Linked DNA regions of Homo sapiens: all the other regions are linked to region 1. The links are contacts of gene promoters, found by promoter capture Hi-C in blood cells and fetal thymus (Javierre and others, 2016). All regions are on one chromosome and are shown on one strand. The core of a region is centred on a gene start or on the middle of the fragment in contact, and the rest is flanking DNA. Distances in the headings are between cores, read along the strand shown.

Evidence for each region. The method cuts DNA at HindIII sites, captures the fragments that hold promoters and counts their contacts. A CHiCAGO score of 5 or more calls a contact.
Region 2: a contact is called between a fragment that was not itself captured here and the fragment with the promoter of SSRP1 in region 1, in 6 of 17 cell types (total CD4 T cells, non-activated CD4 T cells, fetal thymus and 3 more). The highest score is 11.4, in total CD4 T cells.
Region 3: a contact is called between a fragment that was not itself captured here and the fragment with the promoter of SSRP1 in region 1, in 9 of 17 cell types (naive CD4 T cells, activated CD4 T cells, non-activated CD4 T cells and 6 more). The highest score is 15.7, in naive CD4 T cells.
Region 4: a fragment that was not itself captured here is called in contact with the fragment with the promoter of SSRP1 in region 1 in 1 of 17 cell types (naive CD8 T cells); the score reaches 6.0 in naive CD8 T cells.
Region 5: a fragment that was not itself captured here is called in contact with the fragment with the promoter of SSRP1 in region 1 in 10 of 17 cell types (total CD8 T cells, naive CD4 T cells, non-activated CD4 T cells and 7 more); the score reaches 12.7 in total CD8 T cells.

What each region holds. Positions count from the first base shown.
Region 1 is chr11:57,334,620-57,337,161 of GRCh38, reverse strand. It overlaps SSRP1 (structure specific recognition protein 1), which reads left to right and starts at 1,270. Exons shown (of 17, transcript NM_003146.3): 1 at 1,270-1,432; 2 at 1,922-2,094; 3 at 2,514-2,542. The coding sequence starts at 2,041. It also overlaps a transcript of P2RX3 not described here. RefSeq lists enhancers at 1,132-1,181, 2,032-2,101 and a silencer at 1,352-1,531. The HindIII fragment of the contact is 4,158 bases long and covers 1-1,332 here.
Region 2 is chr11:58,627,170-58,629,711 of GRCh38, reverse strand. No RefSeq gene overlaps it. Among named protein-coding and RNA genes, the nearest start is that of CNTF, 5.8 kb to the right of the region's middle. The HindIII fragment of the contact is 3,706 bases long and covers 1-2,542 here.
Region 3 is chr11:58,574,806-58,577,347 of GRCh38, reverse strand. LPXN (leupaxin) reads left to right here and starts at 1,492. Exons shown (of 9, transcript NM_004811.3): 1 at 1,492-1,588. The coding sequence starts at 1,576. RefSeq lists enhancers at 1,500-1,549, 1,560-1,619. The HindIII fragment of the contact is 1,747 bases long and covers 396-2,142 here.
Region 4 is chr11:58,547,937-58,550,478 of GRCh38, reverse strand. It overlaps LPXN (leupaxin), which reads left to right. Exons shown (of 9, transcript NM_004811.3): 6 at 333-506; 7 at 612-693. Among named protein-coding and RNA genes, the nearest start is that of LPXN, 27 kb to the left of the region's middle. The HindIII fragment of the contact is 2,737 bases long and covers 1-2,542 here.
Region 5 is chr11:58,525,057-58,527,598 of GRCh38, reverse strand. It overlaps LPXN (leupaxin), which reads left to right. Exons shown (of 9, transcript NM_004811.3): 9 at 1-728. The coding sequence ends at 145. Among named protein-coding and RNA genes, the nearest start is that of OR5B21, 18 kb to the right of the region's middle. The HindIII fragment of the contact is 599 bases long and covers 981-1,579 here.

The sequences.
Region 1 (2,542 bases), core at 21-2,520:
CGCCACCACGCCTGGCTAATTTTTGTATTTTTAATAGAGACGGGGCTTCACCACGTTGGCCAGTCTGGTCTCAAACTCCTGACCTCAAGTGATCTCCCTGCCTTGGCCTCCCCAAGTGCTAGGATTACAGGTGTGAGCCACCGTGCCTGGCCGGGGATGTTTTCACCTTGTTCAAGTTTCCTCAAATCTGAGAAGTGTGCTAAAGTAGTAATAGGCCCTCAATATCTATTTATTAAACCCAGTTGAATTTATTTTGCTAGATAATGCTGGAATAGCCACTACTCAGAGGTTAAAGCTATGAGTTCAGGGGAGAAGGGTGCATTCCTGTTGTCTCTTACCCCAGGATTGATTTAGCAAGCTGGTGTATTGATTGTCAGGGAAATCTTGAGCTTACATATTCTGTACTAATGTCTTCATGTAGGACACATATCAATAGTCATTCTGAACATACAGTCACTGTGATTATGACAGAAGATAACTGGACTGGTGGTGTTAAGGAGGTCTGGGTCCTACCTAGCCTTGTTGCCAACGCACTGAGACCCTGGGCAACTCACTCCCCTTTGGGTCTCAGTTTTCCCATCAGTAAAAGGAGGTTGGGGTAGAAAAACTAAAACATCTTTTCCAGGTCTGGTCTCTGATGTTGCAAAATGCACTCTGGGATTATACGGGGGAGACCTGGCTTCCGCAACCACAGGATGATGTGGTTTCAAATCAGTTCTGGCTCCAAGGTGAATCTGACACCAGGACTTGAACTGGATAAGGCCGTTTGCCAGCCTCTTGGAGGTACCTATAATTTTCGGTTAAGGATGTGAAAATTTTGGGTGTAGACAGTGAACTTGACAGTTCAGCCAGAAAGCAGTGCACCCACGATGACACCAACACCCGCATACTCTCCGCAGCCAGTGGGAGAGGTCGTTTCCTCCCACAACTGTTCAAATACTTCTCTTCTTGTCCCATCGACTCCTTTCCATGACATAGAAACTATTTTGCAGAGAAACGGGCACGCATCATTCCAATACACACCCCCACCCCACCCCTGTACTAAGTCTGATACAATAAAACTACACAATTTCTCTTTAGTATCTAGTCTCGACTGAAGAAGTGTCTGTAGTTTCTAAAGAGCCCTACACACATTTTCTAGGCCGGATTCCCCCTGGGTGAGAGAGGCTTCACGGCAACCACCCTTCCCTCAGGTCCTCCAGAGTCGCTGACGCTCTATGCGACTGTCTCGCAGGCGGGCCCGACTCGCGTCTCTCTAGCCAGCTCATCCTCTCTGTGGCCTGTGTACGGCTTCCGGTGGCGGGACGCGGGGCCGCGCACGCGGGAAAAGCTTCCCCGGTGTCCCCCCATCCCCCTCCCCGCGCCCCCCCCGCGTCCCCCCAGCGCGCCCACCTCTCGCGCCGGGGCCCTCGCGAGGCCGCAGCCTGAGGAGGTAGGTGGTGGTCGTCCCCGGTCCCAGGAAGGCAGGGGCCCCGCTCCCCCACGGGACCCTCGACATGGACCATTCCGCGTTCGCAACCGCGGGGAGCGGGCGAATCCATTATGTGGGGCGGGGGTGAACCGTGGGTCTGGGGCCGCGGGGTGGTGGGAGCGGTGCGAGGGAAACCCTGCACTCTGAGCTGGATTGGGTCGCGTGCGATGTGCGGGCTCCTGGCAGACCCTGGGGTTCCGCTGCTCGTTGCCATGGCTCCCGCCGGAGCGGCCAGAGCGGGCGTCGGGTTGGGTGTCAGCGGTATTCCGGGCCCGGTTCTCCACCCAGGCCTGGACCTGGACCCTCGGGCACTGCAGCGTCCGTCTGTAGGTTTCCAGGCAGAGGAAATCCTGAGACATCCAGGCGCAGCTGGGAGTTGCTACCTGGCTCCATCCGTGAGCACAGCGAGGTGCTGTCTTTCATGCTTATCTGTCTTCCTCTTGAATTCAGATTCCCAACCTGCTGAGCATCCGCACACCCACTCAGGAGTTGGGGCCCAGCTCCCAGTTTACTTGGTTTCCCTTGTGCAGCCTGGGGCTCTGCCCAGGCCACCACAGGCAGGGGTCGACATGGCAGAGACACTGGAGTTCAACGACGTCTATCAGGAGGTGAAAGGTTCCATGGTGAGAATGGCTTGGACAGGTGATACAAGTAGAGAGAAGGAAGGAGGGTAGAGTTTTTGTCCATTAATGAGAGCTTGCTTTGGTAACGTTATTTTGGAAAAAGAAGACTCAGTATAATGTGTACCTAGTGTCTCCACCAACTCAAGGCAATACTGAGAGATAGTCTCAGAGTTATAGGGACCGTATATGCTGTTCAGTTCCCAATTCCTGTTTTACAAATGAGGAAACTGAGAATCTGTTAAGGGTTCTAGATACCAGAGTCTGGTTTAGAATCTAGACTCCTTGGCACCCTCAGCTGTTGCTCCTGCATTGATAATCTGGCCAGTCCACTTGCAGCAGGAATGTGTGTTAGGTAGAGCTGTAGAACCCAGGACATGCTGTGTACTGTCTCCATGCATCTGGGCCTGCTTTTCTTACAGAATGATGGTCGACTGAGGTTGAGCCGTCA
Region 2 (2,542 bases), core at 23-2,522, 1.3 Mb before region 1:
GACTTGTCTGACCATGCCTACCGTGAAAGCTGCCTCCTGGGTGAATGGCCTGGGTTGTAACTCTCCAGGGAAGTGGATGATTCCTGGAGGCTGTGAGTGAGACTGCTGGGTCAACCTCCAGTGGCCAAAGGCCAATAGGCACAATAGGGTGAAGTTGAGGCTGTGGCCAGATCATTCCTGGTAAGCAGGTGGTATTCTCTGAGATACTTAGGAGCTTGCTCCTCAATCAACTCTGAATCCAAGCTACCTGAGGCATTAAATATACCTGATGATGTCTGCATGTCAGTTACAAGTAATTTCAGATACTCAATTTGTCTATAACAACTGTGTAGTTAGCTATTTTTCATCATTTTCATTTCACAAATGAGGAAGCTCAGAAAAAAGAGTGACTTGTCTGAAAGTTTAGAAACTTATATAGACTTCGTTACAAAGCAAAATTCTGTACAAGCCTGTATTGGCTTTAGCCAAGGAGAGTGGATTAGAGACAGAGAATGGATTTCAGAATAAGAGAATTTTGATTACCAGATGTCCTATGGCACAAGATGTAGTGAAGTGAGCTTTAGAGCCAGAATTAAGACTCCAGCCCTGTCAGGTGCTAGAGGAGGAAATTTGGGCAAGTTAATGCTCATTCTCATTTTCCTCATCTAAGAGATATGTCAGAGGATTAAATAATATAAAATAATGCAGAGCTGCCTGACATGTTACATTATTCCCTTTCATACTACCTTAAATATGTGGATAGAAATACAGAATCTCTCAGTAACTGTTTCATATTTTCCTCTATGTGATTTTCAACAATTTGGTTTCTACCTCCAACCTGACTAAAAATGGGCTAGTCAGGGTTCTTCTCTTGAAGTCAAAGGCTTAATGGGGGGGGGGGGGTGGTCAGCTACTTGCAATTAAGCCATATAAAAGGAAATCATTCTCATCTGCAGTCTAGCTGATAGGACTACGTATTCAGAGGGCAAAGCATTGGCCTGGTGATATAGGGGCAATCTACCTTTTCTAGGCTGACTGGCCCTGGGAGTTTTGCCCAGTGTGAGTGGCCTGGCACCATGGAGATTTACTCAGCACGCTTGATTGGGCCTGGCCCTGGCTAGGAGGATTATGCTTCATCCAATGCTGAAGTCACTTGAAATTCCCCTCATTCATCCAAAGATACAGAAAAGAAGTAACTTATGGTATTGCTGAGAAAAGAACTTTATTGTTAGCTATTCTTGCATCTTTTGTTTTCTATGTGTTCAAACCAGATTGATCGAAATAATCTTTTATATTAAGAATCATAAGCACATAGATTTTATCTCACACCCAGACACTTCATCAAACCATCAAATTATCTTATTCTGTCTTTATCTGTAGTTCTCAGAGGGCTACAGAAGCCAAGAAATGAAGTTTTTATCATTTTTCGCTTTTGAATGCACCCACATTCAGAGAGCTCATTCTTGGGTGGGTCTGACGCTTGCAGTGGAGGTGGGATGAGGCAGGAGGCCAAAGCATTCCTTTTAAGAAATGTCCTGACCTAAACAGTACATTAACAGTACATTAGTCACACACGCGCGCGCGCGCACACACACACACACACACACACACACACACACACACACAGAATCAACTGAAGTGAAATCAAAATTCTACTCCCCCCTACCCCCTTCCTCTTTACCAATCCCCTTTACATCCTGGTGGAGGTCTCTCTGCTTCCCGTGTCTCTATTTCACCCCTTAACAGAGATGCTCAGGTACCTCATGAGGAGCTGAGGATTCACAAACAAAATTCAATCTAAATAACTTTTCAGATATGTCTTCCTGAAATATTTACTAGTCCTCTCCCTGTCTGACAAGTGATCACAACAATGAGTCATCCTTTGGGCATTGATCCATAGCAGCTTGAAATAACAGCAATACCAGAGCTATGACTTTACATTTTCCATTTTTATTAAAACTCTCCCTTCACTTAAACCTGATTATCTTAAGGCTAATTTTATTCCATGCTTGGCTTTCAAGTTTGTGCTGATTTGCGAGCCTTTTCCAAATCACCCTCTTACATGAATGCAAGAAAAACTCTCATCCATGCAATTCCTTGACTCAGGAAAACAAGATCTCTTTACCCACAGAGGACTTTTCAGAAGGTACTCTCTGAAAAGGAGGCAGAAGAAATTGTTTTTACAAAATGAGTTAGGGCTAGAAACTAAATCTATGTACCTTAAACTATAATTCAATCTATATAGTTATACCATATATGATTTCCCAGAGATCTTATCCATATCAGATCAACAGAATAAAACCTAATGAACAAAATCTTCTTGGGGTTCTATATTCCTAAAAAAACGTAATTCCATAGTGTCATCGTTATCCTCTTCTTTACTATAAGGCACACATCTAGAATACTAATCCATTCAGTCCCTTTTTCTATTTATCCATTTCAAATAAACATGATGCAATGTCTACACATTCAGATCTCATACATGTTGATTTTTGTTGCATGGTCTACTGCTCATTTCCCCTTTATCTTTTTCTAAGATTAGCTTTCCCCACACTTCTTTTGG
Region 3 (2,542 bases), core at 20-2,519, 1.2 Mb before region 1:
AAATGTTTTATATTCTCTACTGAGTATTTTCCATTTTCATAGGGCTAATGTCATTTTCAGTTGTAATAATCGATTGGCATAGTGTCAATGGAAATTTTTTAAGATTGAGTTTGTAGTGAGCAGACTTTTGGAAGGAACAGTGCTGACATCCAATGGATGCTCAAAGTAATACAGAGGAGGAATCTCCTTTCAAAAAAAAATGTACAGACAGTGGAATGGAGAATGAATTATTCCCTAAAAAAAAAAAGCCACTGTGGGCTGGATGTGGTAGCTCACCCCCGGAATCCCAGCGCTTTTGGATGCCAAAGTGGGAGGATCCCTTGAGCCCAGAACTTCCAGACCAGCCTGGGCAACATAGGGAGACCACCCTCTACATAAAAAATAAAAATAAAGCTTTTAAGCTAACCTGGTGGCGTGATGGGATGCACCTCTGGTCCCAGCTACTCCAGAAGCTGAGAAGGGCAAATCGCTTGAGTTCAGGAGTTCGAGTTGGAGGTTACACTGAACTATGATAGTACCTTTGCACGCCAGCCTGGGTGACAGAGAGCTTGTCTTAAAAAAAGTAAAGAAGGCTACGGTGTTGTAGAGGAAAGATCCCAGACTTTGCAATTATAGTAAGTAGCAAAGCTACCAATTAATTATCTTAGCAAGTTGCTATTACATGAACCTATTTCACCATTGGTAAAAAGGGGGAAAAAATCTATTTCACAGGGCCATAATTATAGTTCCTTACGTATTGCTTTTTTATAGTAGGCCTTTTGTAAATGTTTAATTCAAGGTGAATAAATCACAGTGGTAAAAAAGGTGAAGAGTTAACCTCAGTGTTACTTTCCAAAGAAATTGCTATAAGGCAGTGTATCTAGGCAGGGATTATGCTTAATTGAGATGCACACAGTTTAACATCTGGTGTCAAACCTGGCTTCCTTCTTTGTGACCACCCTATAGATGTTTGCTTTTGGGACCACTGAGTAAACCAGGCCCTGAGAATCCAAGCATGAATCCACTTCTGCCCTACTTTTAAGGATTTACGTTCCATGCAGGAAAGCAGATAACCATAATTTCTGAATAAATAAGACAACAAAATGAAATGGATGCTGGTCAACTCTGATGCAAATTTTAAGAAGGAGACTATGCCTCTGTGTCTCCCAGCTTCACAGAAAAAAAAAAAAGAAAAAAGAAAGATGCTCAGAGTGGGGTACCTACACTTGGAAAAAACGCAAGTATAAGTCTGCCATTCCCATGAATCCAAGATGAATCCTGGCACAGAGTAGGTCCTCAAATTTTGCAAAATTAATTTTGAATCTTTATCACCCTGGCCAATGCACTGCCATAATGCAAATCTTACTATCTACCTTTCTATGTCAGTCACATTTTTAAAACTGTGTAACCTATGAAAAAAAAAAAAAAGCTCACCAAATCAAAAGAGAGGAAGTGCTAAGCAAATACAGGAACCAAAAAGGTTTATAGAGGCTGCCTTATGCTGTCTCATCCAGTTCCTTTGCGGTCCTCTTCTTCAGCACATGCCAAAGCTGTTCCTCACGGCCTGTGAGACAAGAGCATCTTGGATGTAGGACAATGGAAGAGTTAGGTGAGTGAGGAGCCTGAGGAGAAACTCTGAGGGAGTGAAGACTTGGCTGCCATCTCCTTGTGTGGTGGGGTATACTTCTGGCTAGACTGAGGGTAGTAATGGAAGATTTTATTTTCACTTCTTTCCTGTCCTCAGCCCTGCCAAGAGTGAAGCATGAGGAACTATGATTGTTTTGGGGAACTATGGGTTCACTGTTTGCAGTGGCAAAATAGATGGAGAGTTTGGTGCTAACCGCGGAATAAACTCTTGGCAAATACTTTTGGACTGGATTGTTACTGCAGTTGTTGTCTTGTTATGGGCGTTTTGCCCTTTGGAGGTCACTGGAGATCAAGGGTGGCCACATAGCGAGACAATGCAGAGATATGATTTGAGGAGGAAAAGAAAGAGCAAAAAGGGAATTGGGGTGTTATGAGGAAGAAAAGACGGACTAGAAGTATAAGAATGAGGGATCTGTAGAGGTTGGAAAAAGGCCAGAGTGGTTTCATTTGTTCCATGTTTTAGTATTAAATCAAGAAGGCATAGCACTCTAACTCTAGTGATTTTGTTGCTAAGCTTTTTATTCAGAAGAATTCTGAAGGAAGAGATTACTAGGGCCTGAAAATATGACACCTCCTTCCACTCTAAGACAATTAAAACCAGCAGTGGAACTATTAACCATATTAACCAGAGAAATCCTGGATTTCAAACCTTTGGAGTAATGTAAGGTTTGTCATTCTTGGGACTCATTCCATAGCCTTTGCCAACATCTGTTGCCAGCATCTTAACTAACACTGAGTCACTAAACTATACCCAATTTCCAAACTGTATTAATTCCACAGTGTCCTGGTTTGGGGTGTGTTTGGGGATAGGGTATGTCAAAAGTGCAAAAAACAACAACAAAAAATATCTTGCACATTGTTACATTGTCTTAAAAAAAATGGCGTGTGATTTCAAAGCTGGAGAAACAGAGGAAAA
Region 4 (2,542 bases), core at 28-2,527, 1.2 Mb before region 1:
CCACACTAAGGCTACAGTTACAACTTCTCTGTCATCAATGTGCTATATGTTGTTTCTGCCACCCCCTGTGGCAGTGCAGTGGTTGTGAACATTTACAGGCTTTCATCACAGTGATCAGTCCCGGAAGTGGGCATCCTTTTATTATCAATCCATAAAGCACAGACCACAGATGGCCTTAGGTGGAACCTAGGTCTAGGCCTCAGTGTTGTATAATTCCAGGGCGTGTTGTCTACAAGGGGTACAATGTGAAGAGTGCTCCCTAGAGTTGTGCAACCTGTAGGCTGTAGAGCACTCAACTGGCCTCCTGTGTCAGGCTTTATTTCACTCCACAGGTGATCCATGCTCTAGGGCAATCATGGCATCCTGAGCATTTTGTCTGTACTCATTGCAAAGAAGAGATTGGCTCCAGTCCCTTCTTTGAGCGGAGTGGCTTGGCCTACTGCCCCAACGACTACCACCAACTTTTTTCTCCACGCTGTGCTTACTGCGCTGCTCCCATCCTGGATGTAAGTAAATCCCCGCTCCTCTCCAGCTTTCAGTCACTCACTTAGAACCAGAGTCATGCTTTACAACTTCTGCATCATTATAATATCTGTGTGTTCCCTTTCCAGAAAGTGCTGACAGCAATGAACCAGACCTGGCACCCAGAGCACTTCTTCTGCTCTCACTGCGGAGAGGTGTTTGGTGCAGAAGGTATGACCCGACTTGAGAGGCTGTATCCCACACCCCAGTGGGTAGTTATAAGACCAGCAACACCTTTCCTGGTAGTCACGGGAGTCCTGGTTCCTATCAGTACTATCAAAGTGCCCATTTCAGTACTAGATACCATCCCTCCCTACCTTTCTCCAACATTTATAATTTCCCTTTAAATTGATTTTTTAAATCACAGAAATACAAATGCATAGTTTAAAAACTCAAATATTACTTCAAGGGTAATATTGAAAAAGCCTTTTCTTGTTGAATATTGAAAAAGTCCCTTTCTCATCTCCAAATCCAGTTCTCCTCTCCAAATTATTTTAGCTGTTTCTTCTGATATTTACTTATTTTTTGTTGTTGTTGTTGTTTGTTTTTTTGAGACGGAGTCTCACTGTGTTGCCCAGGCTGGAGTGCAGTGGTGCGATCTCTGGTGCGATCTCCGCCCACTGCAACCTCCACCTCCTGGGTTCAAGCGATTCTCCTGCCTCAGCCTCCCAAGTAGCTGGGACTACAGGCACTTGCCACCACACCCGGTTAATTTTTGTATTTTTAGTAGGGACAATGTTTCACCATATTGGCCAGGCTGGTCTTGAACTCCTGACCTCGTGATCCGCCCGCCTTGGCCTCCCAAAGTGCTGGCATTACAGGCATGAACTACTGCGCCTGGCCTGCTTATGTGTTTTAAATAATAACTTTATATTGTTATAGATTGTTTTATTTTTCCAGTTTTAACCATTATGTATTGACTGTCTAAGAGGGAAGATGAGGTTTAGAAATGTTATTATTACCCCACTCACTCCTAACATATTTCCCCTCCCCTGTTTTTTCAATATATAATTATGTCATAATTACAGGTTAGATCAGTATTAAGTGTGCATATGTTGACAATCATAGAATACTGCTCACAAGTAAGCCATGTAGCAAACTGACTACACTAGAGTCTGGATTTTAGAGTCAGACTTCCAGGTTCAAATCTGGGTTGTGGTATTTGTTCAAGTCATTTAACATCTCTGTACCTTACTTTCCTCATCAGTAAAATAGTCCTAATGAAATTGCCTACCTTATAGGGTTGTTATGAGGATTTAGAGACAATACAAGCGTGGTATTTAGAATAGTGCCAAGCACATGGAGGTATAGTAGTGTTAATATTATTATCACAGTGTCCTTTTGGTATAAATTCATTTTTTTCTAAAGTTAACATTTGAATCCTTTTTGAAATTGGCTTAGTTTTTATTGTACTTATCACTAAGTTATGCAACAGAACTGTGAAATTCTTTTCAAAATGGCCAACTACATCTGGCAACAAGTCAGTTTCTTTCTTTTCTTTTTTTTTTTTCTGGAGATATCCCTCCAGGAGACTTTCCTCCTCCTGATTCAACATGAAATGATTTCTTCCTGCTGAGTAGCAGTCATTCTGGTTCATTAACTTAGAATTATATCTAGTAATTACTCTTGGAAATTCCTTTTATTAGTTTCCTCTTTGGATGCTCTGTTTCCTGGGTCCCATGTCTATGTTTTATACATGTTACCACCTTTATTTTGGTGGGGAACATCCCCTAGTAGCTTTCTGAGAAAGAATTTTTGAGAACTTGAATATCTGAAAATATTTTTATTCTGTCATTGCCCTTAAGTTGCCTGGGCATAGAATTCTAAGTGGAAACTATTTTCCTTCATAATTCTGAAGACATTGCTTCACTGTCTTCTAGCTTCCATGATTGGCAAGTTTTTATTAAATTTTTTTTATCCTTGATCCTTTCTACATGACCCATTCTTCCCCCTTTGTATGTTTGTTTCATGTGTTTTCTGAATTGTCTTGTTTTTTTTAATTTCTCCTTTTTATGTTTGT
Region 5 (2,542 bases), core at 31-2,530, 1.2 Mb before region 1:
TTGTATCAGTGCCATGGGGTACAAGTTCCATCCTGAGCACTTTGTGTGTGCTTTCTGCCTGACACAGTTGTCGAAGGGCATTTTCAGGGAGCAGAATGACAAGACCTATTGTCAACCTTGCTTCAATAAGCTCTTCCCACTGTAATGCCAACTGATCCATAGCCTCTTCAGATTCCTTATAAAATTTAAACCAAGAGAGGAGAGGAAAGGGTAAATTTTCTGTTACTGACCTTCTGCTTAATAGTCTTATAGAAAAAGGAAAGGTGATGAGCAAATAAAGGAACTTCTAGACTTTACATGACTAGGCTGATAATCTTATTTTTTAGGCTTCTATACAGTTAATTCTATAAATTCTCTTTCTCCCTCTCTTCTCCAATCAAGCACTTGGAGTTAGATCTAGGTCCTTCTATCTCGTCCCTCTACAGATGTATTTTCCACTTGCATAATTCATGCCAACACTGGTTTTCTTAGGTTTCTCCATTTTCACCTCTAGTGATGGCCCTACTCATATCTTCTCTAATTTGGTCCTGATACTTGTTTCTTTTCACGTTTTCCCATTTCCCTGTGGCTCACTGTCTTACAATCACTGCTGTGGAATCATGATACCACTTTTAGCTCTTTGCATCTTCCTTCAGTGTATTTTTGTTTTTCAAGAGGAAGTAGATTTTAACTGGACAACTTTGAGTACTGACATCATTGATAAATAAACTGGCTTGTGGTTTCAATAACTCATTGTCATATTTGTTTGGGAGATAAACTTTCTGCTTCCCGTGTTATATACTAGGCACTATGTACAATTAAGATTATATCATACCTCGTTTCCTTCCATCCAATGCACACTTTAAAATTTTTAATCAGAAGAAATTAAAAGGAGGGTCTCCTTTTCACTAATTTTTCTTTTTTTTCTTTTTAGTTTGGTCCCATAACCATTTTATTTTCTAGACTTAGATGATTGAATCATTTTTAAAAATGACAAAGCTTCTTAAAATTGTTTTTATTACTTTGTTTACAGGAGGAGAAACCCTGGCTCTCCATTAGAAACCTTACAAATTCATTTCTTTTTCCTTTTTTTTTTTTTCTGAGATGGAGTTTCGCTCTTGTTGCCCAGGTTGGAGTGGAATGGCGCGATCTCGGCTGACCGCAACCTCCACCTCCTGGGTTCAAGCAATTCTCCTGCCTCAGCCTCCTGAGTAGCTGGAATTACAGGCATGCGCCACCACACCAGGCTAATTTTTCTATTTTTAGTAGAGATGGGGTTTCTCCACGTTGGTCAGGCTGGTCTCAAACTCCCGACCTCAGGTGATCCACCCACCTCGACCTCCCAAAGTGTTGGGATTACAGGCGTGAGCCACTGCGCCCAGCCACAAATTCATTTCTAAAGTAAAAAATGAAACACAATTTCACATTTGCCTCCTGAAGACAAATGAGATGGCTGTTCTTAGAGCATCTCTGAAGAAAGATGCTATAAATAAAGCTCAAATGATTATTATCTAGAATTAGGAAAGCCAAGACTCAAAGAAAAATTCCTCTTAATCATTTGTTCATCTCAAAATATTATAAGTAAATGTTTAGAAAAGCTTGTCAGGTTATCAGAGAATCTGATTTTCTTATGTCCTGTCAGTTTACTGTCCTACAGTTTACTTTTTATAAAAGTAAGCTTCACAAGGACTAATCTTTCTGCAAAAGGGATATTGAGAAGATCAGTACAATATCTTTCTTCCCGTGGTCTTAAAAATAATTGTGTGATTATTTGTTATAACAAAAACCAGACTCTTAGAATCCTTGATTCTGAGATAAGTTACTGGCGAAAACTCCTTCACTGGAGGTATTTTTAAAAATAGGACAAAATTTGATGTCTTTAGATTGATAGAGGAATAGTACTACTTGGGAGAGCTGAAATGGATTAAATGTTTCTTGCCAAACTTTATTATATCTATGTCCTTTGTTGGAATGGATAATAAGGGGGTTGTGAGAGTTACAAGGAATTGGCAACAGTTAATTCTATAAAATAGGAACTCCAAATGCATGTAAGATATGTGGGAGGCCACACAGATACGGAACCATCTGGCCTCTATCCTGTTTGGCTGTCTGAGAGCGCCAGACTATGCAGAACACACATTCAACTTTTAAACATCCTCTTTGCAATGTCTTCACTCAACGATGTCACACGCAGGTGTTAATATGGCAATGTTCTTGGTTGCCTTGGCAATTTGACAAAATAAACTTGGAGTTTTAGCCCTTAAAAAGAAATGTACAGGTGCTAAAACTTTTTTAAAAAGGATTAGCTATTTTGAGATTCAATAGAATTTAACTATTTTTAAATGTCAAAGAAAATCCAGAGTTCACTAAGATGTAATTAAGAAGTGAAAACACTTTCTTCCCACATTGAACGGAAGTGGTTTTATTTGCTCAAAAAGAGATACTGACTTCAGGACCAGTGTTTTAGCAATAAGGAAACTACTCACAAGTAAAAAGTTCTGCTTTTTAAAAACCCTGGAAATGCCATTACTAAAATTGATCACGTACTTATTTACTTTTGGTT